3 separate regions of the Homo sapiens genome follow, and all the other regions are linked to region 1. The links are contacts of gene promoters, found by promoter capture Hi-C in blood cells and fetal thymus (Javierre and others, 2016). All regions are on one chromosome and are shown on one strand. Each heading gives the region's core, a stretch centred on a gene start or on the middle of the fragment in contact. The rest is flanking DNA. Distances are from core to core; before and after follow the strand shown. Region 1 holds the start of FBXO2 (F-box protein 2). Region 2 holds the start of TARDBP (TAR DNA binding protein). Region 3 holds the start of CIROZ (ciliated left-right organizer protein containing ZP-N domains).

Region 1 (3,480 bases), core at 981-3,480:
AAACTGTGTCTCTATTAAAAATACAAAAAATTAGCTGGGCGTGGTGGCGGGCACCGGTAATCCCAGCTACTCGGGAGGCTGAGGCAGGAGAATCGCTTGAACCCAGGAGGTGGAGGTTGCAGTGAGCCGAGATCGCACCATTGCACTCCAGCTTGGGCAACAGAGCGAGACTCCATCTAAAAAAAAAAAAAAAATTAGCCAGGTGTGGTGGCACATGCCTGTAATCCCAGCTACTTGGGAGGCTGAACTTGGGAGGTGGAGGTTACAGTGAGCCAAGATTGTGTCACTGTACTCCAGCCTGGGTGACAGAGTGAAACTCCGTCTCAAAAAAAAAAAAAAAAAAAAAAGAGTATAGTAAGAATAAGAAACACCACTCTTGGCCTCAGTTTGCCCATCTGAAAAATGTGTGCACTAACAGTAGCTACCTCTTTGGGTTACTGTGAGAGAAGTAAAGGTGTTAAACCATCCAAAGTACCCGGCTCATACTAAGTGCTCAATACATGTTCCTGGTGTCATGACTGTGTACTGGAGGCATGCCAGACCCGGCCTGTACCCCACCTTCAGCGCACGGGTTGTGCAGGAGGTTCCTGTGCAGGCTCCGTAAGAAGTAGAAGATCTTCCAGTCGGCCACGGGCTGGTCCCAGTCCTCAGTGATGAAGCCCTCTCGCAGGCACTTGCGTTTCCAGAGGGTCACGAGGTCGATGAGGTCCCGCCAGAGGCTGCAGACCAGGCGGCAGTTCAGCAGCAGCTGGCGGGCGGGCACGTGCGTGAACAGCTCCAGCAGGATGTTCTCGGGCAGCTCGTTGATGTTCCCCACAGCCATGGCTTGTGGCTTCTGGACACCCTCCTGTAGCTGTTGAAAAGCTATGCTGCAGGCCTCATCCCTGCTCTGCCATTTATCTCGGGAGAGCATGGTGCCTCTCCCAGCCTGTTTCCTTCTCTGTAAATGGATGCCTTACCTCCAGGGGTCACTGGGGCGGTCCAAGGAGCTTGGGACACATCAGGTACTTTAATAAAAGGTGAGCTCTGATTTTTTTCTCTGGCCTCTCACAATAGAGGTGGAAGGCACTGCCCAAGGTCAAAAATAAGGGCAGAGGGGGAAGAAGCCCGGATCTTCTTTGATTCCAGGGCCAGCCTTTTTCAGTAGGCCAGTCTTTAATGGGGATATAATGCGCAGCCGGGCAGAGCACCCCAGGCCTCCGGTGCCGTCACCATCCTCTCTCCCATCCTCAGAACATGATGGGAGGAGGAGGCTAATTATCACTGCCTCCCGCGGAGGTCCAAAGGGCTCCAGCCACCTTCTCAAGATCTCAGAGGACATGATCTCCTGCCTAGGTGGGAGTGGCAAGAGGGTGGGCGACAGGGAAGGGCCCTTCCTATCTCCCCACCCCCACTCCCACCCCCAGCCCCGCGGCTGGGCTCCGCCAGCCCCAAGTCCGCCAGCGCGCCTGCAGCCTCCCCTTCCCACGCTGTGCCTTAAAATGCCCCCCAAAGTCTGGGCTCGGACCCCTGTACATCGATGGCGACCCCAGCCCCCGTTCGCAGCCGCGCAGCGCAGCCCGGGCAAGCTCGGCGGCCTGGGCCTGGTCGGTGCCAGGCCTCCCTCGGCAACTGCGGCGCGACCCGGAACCCAGGAGCCTTCCCGGCAGCCCCCGCCCAGCCGCGCCCCCTCCCCAGCGCCCCCCGCGCCCCCTCCTGCCGGTCACCTGCGCTCGGCCGCCGCGGCACGATCCGTTGGGCCGCCCAAGCTGCACCGCCTGGACCTGCGCTTGCCTGGAAAGCGAGGCCCCGCCCCGGCCCGCCAGGCCCCGCCCCCGCGCCCCGCGCCCCGCCCCGCGCAGCGCTGGGCCAGGGACGCACCCCCACCGCGTCGTAGGAAAATTACCTGGTGTGGGGGGTGGGGCGGAAGGCACCTCCTATACTCCGACTCCGCCTGGGCCACCCGCCCCTCACCCTCGGCCTGACCCAGCCTCTCCGTGCCTCCCCTAGCCGCCTCCTCCCAGCAGTCCCCCAGGAGCGAGCTGCGAGATGCCCCAAATCGGACCCCTCCCCAGTTGGAAAAAAAACGACTCCTGACCTTTCCCAGCCTCCTCGGTCCGCTGAGGAACCCGCAGCCCCGGGCCTCGAGCAGACTGCTGGGACTGCGGGGCGGCCGGGCGCGGGGCCAGAGGCGGGGCGGGGCGGGTCGGGTCGGGGGCCTTTAAGAGGCGCGGTCGCCGGGACCGACACAGACGCGGACAGCGCCGGGACTCGCCGCCCCGGGACTCGCGCAGCCCGCAGCGCTCCGGCTCCTCCTCTCGCGACCGCCCTCCGCAGCGATGGACGGAGACGGTGACCCAGGTAGCCGACGCCTGGACCGCTCGCTGCGGCGGGGAGGGGAGATGGGGTCGGCGGGCGAGCGCTGCACAGAGGGGCGTCAGAGAGCGAGGGGACCCGGAGACCTGGCGCGGCAAACTTTCACGCCAGCGAAGCCCTAGAGGCGGTCTCCAAAGAGCACGTCTCTCTGCTATCTTGGTCTGGCGGGAGGCCTTGAGAGGCGACTGGCAAGGAGAGAGAACTCCTGGGTCCCATTTAGCCAGGAAGTAGCACCAGAGGACCCCCACATTCCCGCCTCCCAGCTTCCTGAGGGTCTGTCTGGCGGGGGCCTGGGATGCGTCTGGGAGGGAGGCTGCGAGCCTTTTCTTTCATCAGCTCTTCCAGCTCTGGGCCTTGGGCCGTCTGAATCCCCGTGGGTTCCTTGGGGTCCCAGGCCTGGCCTCACCTATTCCTGCCTTCCTCCTGAGCTCCCTTGTCTGGAGGGGCTGCCCCTCCCCGGGGTGGTGAGATGCCCAGTGGGGACCCGACTAGCGGTGAGGGAGCGTTGGGGGCAGCTTTGGCTGGTGCTCAGGGCCTTCCCAGGCTGCCCAGTCATCCTCTCTGGCACCCAAGACCCCTCACCCCCATCCCTCCAACTCCCTGCGGGGCCTGCAGGGGTTGCCTGCTGAGTCAGGATGGAAACAAGACCTGCCTGCAGACAGCCCTCACTCTTTCCTCATCAGGTCCAGCTGGGGATGGGCATTGCTTGGGTTAGGCGGTGGCAAACAGACTGATGAAAGCTCAGGCCCCCCCTCACCCCCCATTCCCCCGCCTCCAGCCCTGAAAATTCCAGCTCTCGCAGCCCTTGCTCCCAATCCACGGCCTTCTGGCCACACCCTCTGTAGGGCTCCAGAACTGGCTCCTGCTTTTTCCCAGGGATCAGCTATACCCTGGACTCTGGGGCCCACTCCAGGTGAGTGAGTCAGCCTCGCAGGCAGGCAGCTTCCAGGGGCCAGATAACTTTCCGCCGGCAACAATGTGGGGAGTTGTGTGTGTAAGAGAGAGGGTGGGGGGAGCTGTAATTGGATCTGGGGCCTCGAGTGCCAGGCCCCGGGGCCAGAAGAGGGGACTGGGTGAGGTGCACCTTTCGGGGAGCATCAGGTGTCCGATGGGGCCAGGGCCGGA
Region 2 (3,486 bases), core at 609-3,108, 640 kb after region 1:
ATTTCCTTGGCACACTTCTTAAACTTCATGCTTCCTTTTCTTAGATTTAGAACATCATTGATAAGAGGCAGAGAGAAGGATAAGACCAGAACCTCGAAATTGTAATTGGAACTGCACTAATTCAAGATTTGGCTACTCCAACTGTTTGCTCATTTAAGGGAAAAAATGAACTCAGATTTGCTGAATGAATGATGTAACACCAAAAGGACAATGATCAAATCCAAACACTGAAGCACTTCAGAAGAATCTATTTACAACAATGATTTATGTACAAAACATTCTTAGTGATTCCTGAAATTTATCATCAACTTGGCAAAGTTTATTCAGATATTTTTTAAATACATTGTTTTCTCTTTTAAAATGATCTACAATCCCCAGTTTCCATAAATTTAGACTCGTGGTCTTCCAAACTTGTCTAACACTGAAGTTCAAGGAAATACTTAAGTTTCAGGAGACATTCTGCCACCAAAAGAGGCTAAGATCCATGGATGAGACACACACCTGAACACACTTCAGCATGATTACAAAAACCAAATGGTAACAAACCTTTTGGATAGTTGACAACATACACCAGATTTCCCCAGCCAGCATCTGGGGCATGCAGAATTCCTTCTACCAGCCGGACACCTCTCATACACTGAGACACTGGATTCCTGTAGCGAAGCCCACACGCCCCTGGAAACTGGGCTGTAACCGTGGAGAGCAGCACCGTCCCATCGTCTTCCGATGGTATTTCAATGGGCTCATCGTTCTCATCTTCGGTTACCCGAATATATTCAGACATCTTTTACTTTTCCTAAAGAGAAAAGAGATATGAATGAACAACATTCATGTCAGAATAACTGTTTCCTTATAATGATAATACCCAAACCATGTCAGAGTTCTGACTTCCAGAAAAATGCTTGTCTGGATTCGTATATGCATTGGTTATCCCTGAAAAATGACGAGGTGAAGGTAAGGGTAGTGATTTCCTATCAAAATGTGATGCCTCGCCAGTTCATTCATTCAAAAAACTTTCCCTGAAGGCTTATGATGCGTCAGGTACTGAAACTGTAACTGTGAGTCCAACGTGGCTTGCTGGTTACAAGCTAGGGTATGCAAGGGAACAATAAACAGTAGCTATTTTATGACAATCGGGTTAGTCGTTAAGTAATCCTGAAGGCAGAGGAGGAGCCTAACTGGCTGAGGCATGGGCGTGATAGGTCCCAGTCGATTTTCCTAAGCAAGCGATCCATCAGCTGAACCTGAAGACTGAATATGGGCAGTGAACCAGGTGTAAAGAACAGGAGAAAAGTTTCCCTCTGTTCCTCATTTTGGGGCTTCCGGGGGCTCTGCGAGCCCGAGCCCCAAGGCCCGCGGCGACAGGTCCTGGCGGTGCCGGCCGTCGCCTCCCAGAAGCCCGCGCGTGCCAGCCGAGGGAGGAGTTTCTCGGCGCGGCCCGGGGTGGGGCGCAGGAGCACCAGGCCCAAGCTGGCAGCGTCCCTCGAAGTACAAAGTACCGAAGGCTCCGGCACTGTCCGGGTCCGGGGCCAACCTCCGCCTCAGGCTACGCGGCACCGCGGGCCCGGCCCCCCGTTTCGGCGCCACCGGCCTCCCCGTGCCAGGACCTAACGACGCTCCCGCGCGAGCCCGCTCGGGCAGGACTAGGCCCGGTCTCACGGCTGACTTCCCGGGGCAGGGTCCGAAGCCGCTGCGTCTGCCTCGGGCCGCCCCAATGCAGAAGCCGAGGCACCTACGGCGTCCTCAGTGAGAAGGCTCCGCGACTCACCCGCTAGGCCGCTGCTGGGAAGCCCGACAGGGACACCGAAGCAGCGACGGACCCAAGCGCAGCCCAGCCACCGCTTCGCTCCCACAAAATGGCGCTAGGGCCGCCTCCTCCCCCCGCCCACCGGCGTCCTCTCCCACCGGTTGCCTGTCCAGAGGTGGAAGGCACCGACGAGAGCCACGATGACCCTCTCCCCAGGGACTCGGGCTGCCTCCTGGAAATTCAAGCCTACAGAGAAGCTCTGAAAGCTAAAATAAAACCAGGACCTAGGCCTGAAAAGCTGAAGATTGAAAAAAGTGTGGCTGTATAGGAGCTGACCTCCCCCCACGTAACGTAGCAGATGGTTTCGGCCGACCAACCGCCGGCCCAGGTCTCGGTCGGAGCTCGCGCACTTTCAAAGCGCGCGAGAGTAGCACAGAGTCTCGGCCAGCGAGGGCGGGGCGGGGCGGGGCCTGGAGGGGGCGGGGCTCGGGATCCCGGGCCGAGTCCACCTGGGAGGCAGGATAAGGCCTGGACCCCTTTTCTGAAAGGCAACCTAGTGCGTCTTCTCCTCCCTCCGCCAGCCCACCTCCAAACCTGGAAACAATAACTTTGTTCTAAATAATAGCAATGATAAGGCTACTTTGTGCCAGGTACTTTCTGAGTATTCACATATTTAATAGCCCAAACAGTTTTGTGTAGCAGGAGCTATTGATATTCATTCTGCGGGTGAGGAAACTGAGGCACAGAGAGATCAAGTGTCTTGCTTAAAGTGACGCAAGGATTAGCCGGGCGGTAGTGGCGCGCGCCTGTAGTCCCATCTACTCGGGAGCCTGAAGCAGGAGAATTGCTTGAACGCGGTAGGCGGAGGTTGCGGTGAGCCGAGATCGCGCCACTTCACTCCAGTCTAGGCGACAGAGTGAGACCCTGTCCTCCAGCCCCTCCCCCCAAAAAAATGTCACCCAAGGAATAAATGGTAGACCTGGGATTTGAATCTCGAGGCACAAAATGCTAACTTGTTCTGGCTCCAGCCCTTTAATAATAATAATAATACAGTACTTCATCTATTTTAAGGCACACTTTTTGTTTCACTTTTTTTTTTTTTTTTTTTGAGACGGAGTCTCGCTCTTGTCCCCCAGGCTGGAGTGCAGTGGCGCAATCTGCAGCTCACTGCCACTTCCAACTCCTAGGTTCAAGGGATAGCTGGGATTATAGGCGTGCAAAGACACCATGCCCGGCTAATTTTTGTATTTTTAGTAGAGACAGGGTTTGGCCATGTTGGCCAGGCTGATCTCGAACTCATGGCCTCAAGTGATCCGCCTGCCTCAGCTCCCCAAAGTGCTGGGATTACAGGCACGAGCCACCTTTCTTTTCTATCTTTTCTTTCCTTTCTTTCCTTTCCTTCCCTTCCTTTCCTCCCTTCCCTCCCTTTCCCCCCCTTCCCTCCCTTCCCACCTTCCTTCCTCCCTACCTCTCTCTCTTTCTCTCTCTCTCTCTTTCTTTTCTCTTCCTTTTTTTCAGACTCCCTCTGTTGCCTAAGGTGGAGTGCAGTGGCACAATCTCAGCTCACTGCAACCTCCGCCTCCCCGGTTCAAGCAATTCTCCTGCCTCAGCCTCCTGAGTAGTTGGGTCTACAGGCATGCACCACCATGCCCGGCTAATTTTTGTATTTTTAACCCCTGTTGGCCAGGCTGGTCTCAAACTCCTGACCTCAGGTGATCCGCCCACCTCGGCCTCCCAAA
Region 3 (3,677 bases), core at 223-2,722, 670 kb after region 1:
TTGATTTCTTCACAGTTCTAGAGGCTAGGAGTCTGAGATCAAGGTGCAGGCAGGGCTGGTTTCTCCGGAGCTGCCTCTCTGGCTCACAGCTGGCCATCTTCTCCCTGTGTCCTCACACCGTCATTCCTCCGTATGTGTCCGTGCCCTAATCTCCTCTTCCTTTTTTTTTTTTTTTTTGAGACGGAGTCTTATTGTATCGCCCAGGCTGGAGTGCAATGGCACGATCTCAGCTGTCTGCAATCTCTGCCTTCCAGGTTCAAGCGATTCTCCTGCCTCAGCCTCCAGAGTAGCTGGGATTACAGGTGCCCACCACCAAGCCCGGCTATTTTTTGTATTTTTGGTAGAGACAGGGTTTCACCATGTTGGCCAGGCTGGTCTCAAACTCCTGACCTGATGATCCACCCACCTCAGCCTCCCAAAGTGCTAGGATTACAGGCGTGAGTCACTGCGCCTGGTCTTTTTTTTTTTTTTTTTTTTTTTTTTTTTTTTTTTTTTTTTTTTTAGACGGAGTTTTGCTCTTGTCACCCAGGCTGCAGTACAATGGTACGATCTTGGCTCACTGCAACCTCCATCTCCCGGGTTCAAGCAATTCTCCTGCCTTAACTTCCCAAGTAGCTGGGATTACAGGCGTGCACCCCCACACCTGGCTAGTTTTGTATTTTTAGTAGAGATAAGGTTTCACCATGTTGGCCAGGCTGGTCTCGAAGTCCTGACATCAGGTGATCAGCCTGCCTCGCCCTCCCAAATCACTGGGATTATGGGCATGAGTGACTGTGCCCGGCCCCTTTTTTTTTTTTTTTTAGACAGGGTCTTGTTCTGTTGCCCAGGCTGGAGTGCAGTAGCACAATCAGGGCTCACTGCAGCCTCAACCTCCTGGGCTCAAGCAATCCTCTCACCTCAGCCTCCTGAGTAGCTAGGACCACAGGTGTGTGCCACCATGCCCAGCTAGTTTTTAAATTTTTTGTAGAGACAGGGTCTTGCCATGTTCCCCTGGCTTGTTTCGAACTCCTGACCTCAAACAATCTGCCCATCTCTGCATCCCAAAATGCTGGGGTTACAGGCATGAGCCACCATGCCTGGCCCCTCAGCTCCTTTTGAACTCTGCCAGGAGGGGCCTGGAGCAGGGTTCTGGGAAGCCCCATCAAGACAGCGTGACTGTTCCTCCGGTGAAGCTCAGTTTCTTAGCTTCTTTCCTTCCTTGGGCACAGAGACAGGCTTCTCCCGGGAGCGGAGAATGAGGGCCTGCACTCCAGCCTCAGTGGATCAATTCATCTTCAGCCTTCTGATCCGCAATCTTATTTTGAGCTCCCACGGCTGAAGCAATTCATCTCACCCATGCAGAGGGATGGGGAGAAGCTGAGAGTGTTGACACCCACCTGTGTTTTCTGGCACCTGAGTGACCCGAGACCTGCACTGGAGGGGAAGGGGAGGAGCCAACCTTTCGTTTAGTTGCTTGGAACTGCTTCAGATTAAATTCTCCCAGGGCAGGAGAGAGCTGCTGGGCCTGAGGATGTGGGGGTCCCCAGCACTTGCCTGGTAAGTGTCCCTTATTCAGGAATTGGGAGAAGCCAGTGGCATGCTTAGTGTGCCCACACTCCTTGAAGAAGCCAAATATCTTCCATCAGAATCAGAAGCCTTGCATCTAAGAGGGAAGGGGGCCAAATGGGTGAGGGGCCCAGATGCATGGATGCCTTGGGAAGGGCTGACTTTCTCAGGTGAGGTCCGGCCACAGTCTCTCCCACCTTTCTCATGCTCCTGTCATCCCTTGTTCTGGAATTCCAGTCCTCCCATCTTGGGAAGGATTTCCAGAAGATTGGGAGAAAACAGAACACGTCTTCCTTGTCCTAGAGGGTCCTTAAAACAAAACAAATTAGGGGTCAAGTTGACCAAGAGATGCTTGATTTCAAGGAGTTTTCAAATGATAGGAGTTGTGGTCGCTAGCTATTCGATTGTAAGGATTAGGAGAAAATTTCATTTTCCTTCCTTCCCTCCCTTCCTTCCTTCCCTCCCTGCCTTCCTTCCTTTCTCCTTCCTTCCTTCCCTTTCCTTTCTTTTCTCTTTCTCTCTCTCTCTCCCTCTCTGTCTCTCCTTCTTCCTGAGATAGAGTCTTGCTCTGTTGCCCAGGCTGGAGTGCAGTGGCAAGATCATAGTTCACTGTCATCTCTTAACTCCTGGGCTCAAGTGATCATCCCACTTTAGCCTCCTGAGTAGCTGGGACCATAGGCATGTGCCACCACACTTTGGTAATTTTTTAATTTTTTTGTAGAGACAGGGTCTTACTGTGTTGCCCAGGCTGGTCTTAAACTCCTGGGTTCAAGCCATCCTCCTGTCTCGGCCTCCCAAAGTATTGGGATTACGGGCATGACTCACTGCACTTGGCCAAAATCTCATTTTCCTTGGCAACAGAATTGCTACCTCTTTTCCCCATCTGAGATGCATTTTTAAGAGATACTTTAAAAAGCTCCTGAGAGTGGGAAGTGAAGCCTCCCAGGCCAGCTGGAATGTCACAATAGCTGGCTTGTGGCCTTTGGGCCGTGGACTGCAGGGCTTTTGTTGGGCGTTTTGTGAGGTTGAAGTCTGTAGACAATGAAGGCAGTGGAGAAGCTGAGTGGGGCTTTGTGGGGCTGGGCGAGCAAGGGGGAGGTCCGGGCCCTGTCCTGGGGACCCATTGCCTTCTCCTGGATGCCCCATGAGGGGGCTCAGCTTTGGGGGATGGAGCATCATGTCTCCCCCCAGACTGGGATGGGGCAGTTCTGGGTCTGAGAAGTGAGGGGGAAAAACCCAAACCCACATCTTTCTCCCGATTGATGCTCAAGGAGGAGAACAGGAGCAGGCATCAGACGGAGGGGAGAGCTGTCTACCCCCCACCTGCCACCGGGCCGATTCCAGACAGCATTCCCTGTGTAACAGCAGAGTCGGGGTCCCTGGCAAGGCCGGGACTCAGCACCAGAGTCAGCCACTTTCCTTTTCCCCAAGATTATTCTTCTGGTCCTGTCTCAGATTTACTCGCTCTGGGAGAACCTTCCTTCAAGACCAATTGCCCCAGCCAGGTTTTTGTTTTGCAAATTAATCAACTAATAATAGCGCCTCCCCGCTGCTGGGAGAGGAATTCCGCATTGGGCTCAGTGTCCAGGCAGCAGAGCCCAGGGCGGGTACCCGGCCGTCCATGGGAGAGGCTCGCCACAGGCGCTTCTGAATTCAGCGAATGAAGCGGGGCAGCGGGGCAGCCAGGCAGCCGCAAGCTCCTCCCAGCTCAAAGGCTGCAGGCTCAGCTTAGATTCCAGGCTGGGGAACCAGTCCTGTCATTCTTTGCCAACCCACTCTGGGGAGACTGTGGGCCCTGGCATTTGGCCTCCCTGGGCTGGGCCTGAGGCCCTGGCCCTCTGCCCACCCAGGAATCGAATGGCTCAACGAGGGCAGCCCTAGAAGGAAATGCAGCACCCATTCCTGCCTTTTCACATTGCTTTTTAAACTGTTAACTTTCTTTCTTTCTTTTTTTTGAGACGGAGTTTTGCTCTTGTTGCCCAGGCTGGAGCGCAATGGTGAGATCTCGGCTCACCACAACCTCCACCTCCCAGGTTCAAGCGATTTTCCTGCCTCAGCCTCCTGAGTAGCTGGGATTACAGGCATGCGCCACCGCACCTGGCTAATTTCGTATTTTTAGTAGAGATAGGGTT

The links. Contacts are between HindIII fragments. The CHiCAGO score rates a contact against its expected background, and 5 or more counts as called.
Region 2: the fragment with the promoter of TARDBP here is called in contact with the fragment with the promoter of FBXO2 in region 1 in 9 of 17 cell types (M2 macrophages, activated CD4 T cells, fetal thymus and 6 more); the score reaches 6.0 in M2 macrophages.
Region 3: a contact is called between the fragment with the promoter of CIROZ here and the fragment with the promoter of FBXO2 in region 1, in 2 of 17 cell types (M0 macrophages and total B cells). The highest score is 6.8, in M0 macrophages.

What each region holds. Positions count from the first base shown.
Region 1 is chr1:11,653,179-11,656,658 of GRCh38, reverse strand. FBXO2 (F-box protein 2) reads left to right here and starts at 2,230. Exons shown (of 6, transcript NM_012168.6): 1 at 2,230-2,340. The coding sequence starts at 2,319. FBXO44 (F-box protein 44) reads right to left here and starts at 1,782. Exons shown (of 6, transcript NM_033182.7): 1 at 1,707-1,782; 2 at 559-853. The coding sequence starts at 823. RefSeq lists silencers at 1,551-1,620, 1,671-1,900, 2,141-2,280. The HindIII fragment of the contact is 12,019 bases long and covers 1-3,480 here.
Region 2 is chr1:11,011,026-11,014,511 of GRCh38, reverse strand. It overlaps TARDBP (TAR DNA binding protein), which reads right to left and starts at 1,858. Exons shown (of 6, transcript NM_007375.4): 1 at 1,769-1,858; 2 at 547-796. The coding sequence starts at 784. RefSeq lists silencers at 540-786, 2,196-2,425 and enhancers at 1,148-2,115, 1,826-2,155. The HindIII fragment of the contact is 20,579 bases long and covers 1-3,486 here.
Region 3 is chr1:10,979,871-10,983,547 of GRCh38, reverse strand. CIROZ (ciliated left-right organizer protein containing ZP-N domains) reads left to right here and starts at 1,472. Exons shown (of 13, transcript NM_001170754.2): 1 at 1,472-1,536. The coding sequence starts at 1,511. The HindIII fragment of the contact is 7,392 bases long and covers 1-3,677 here.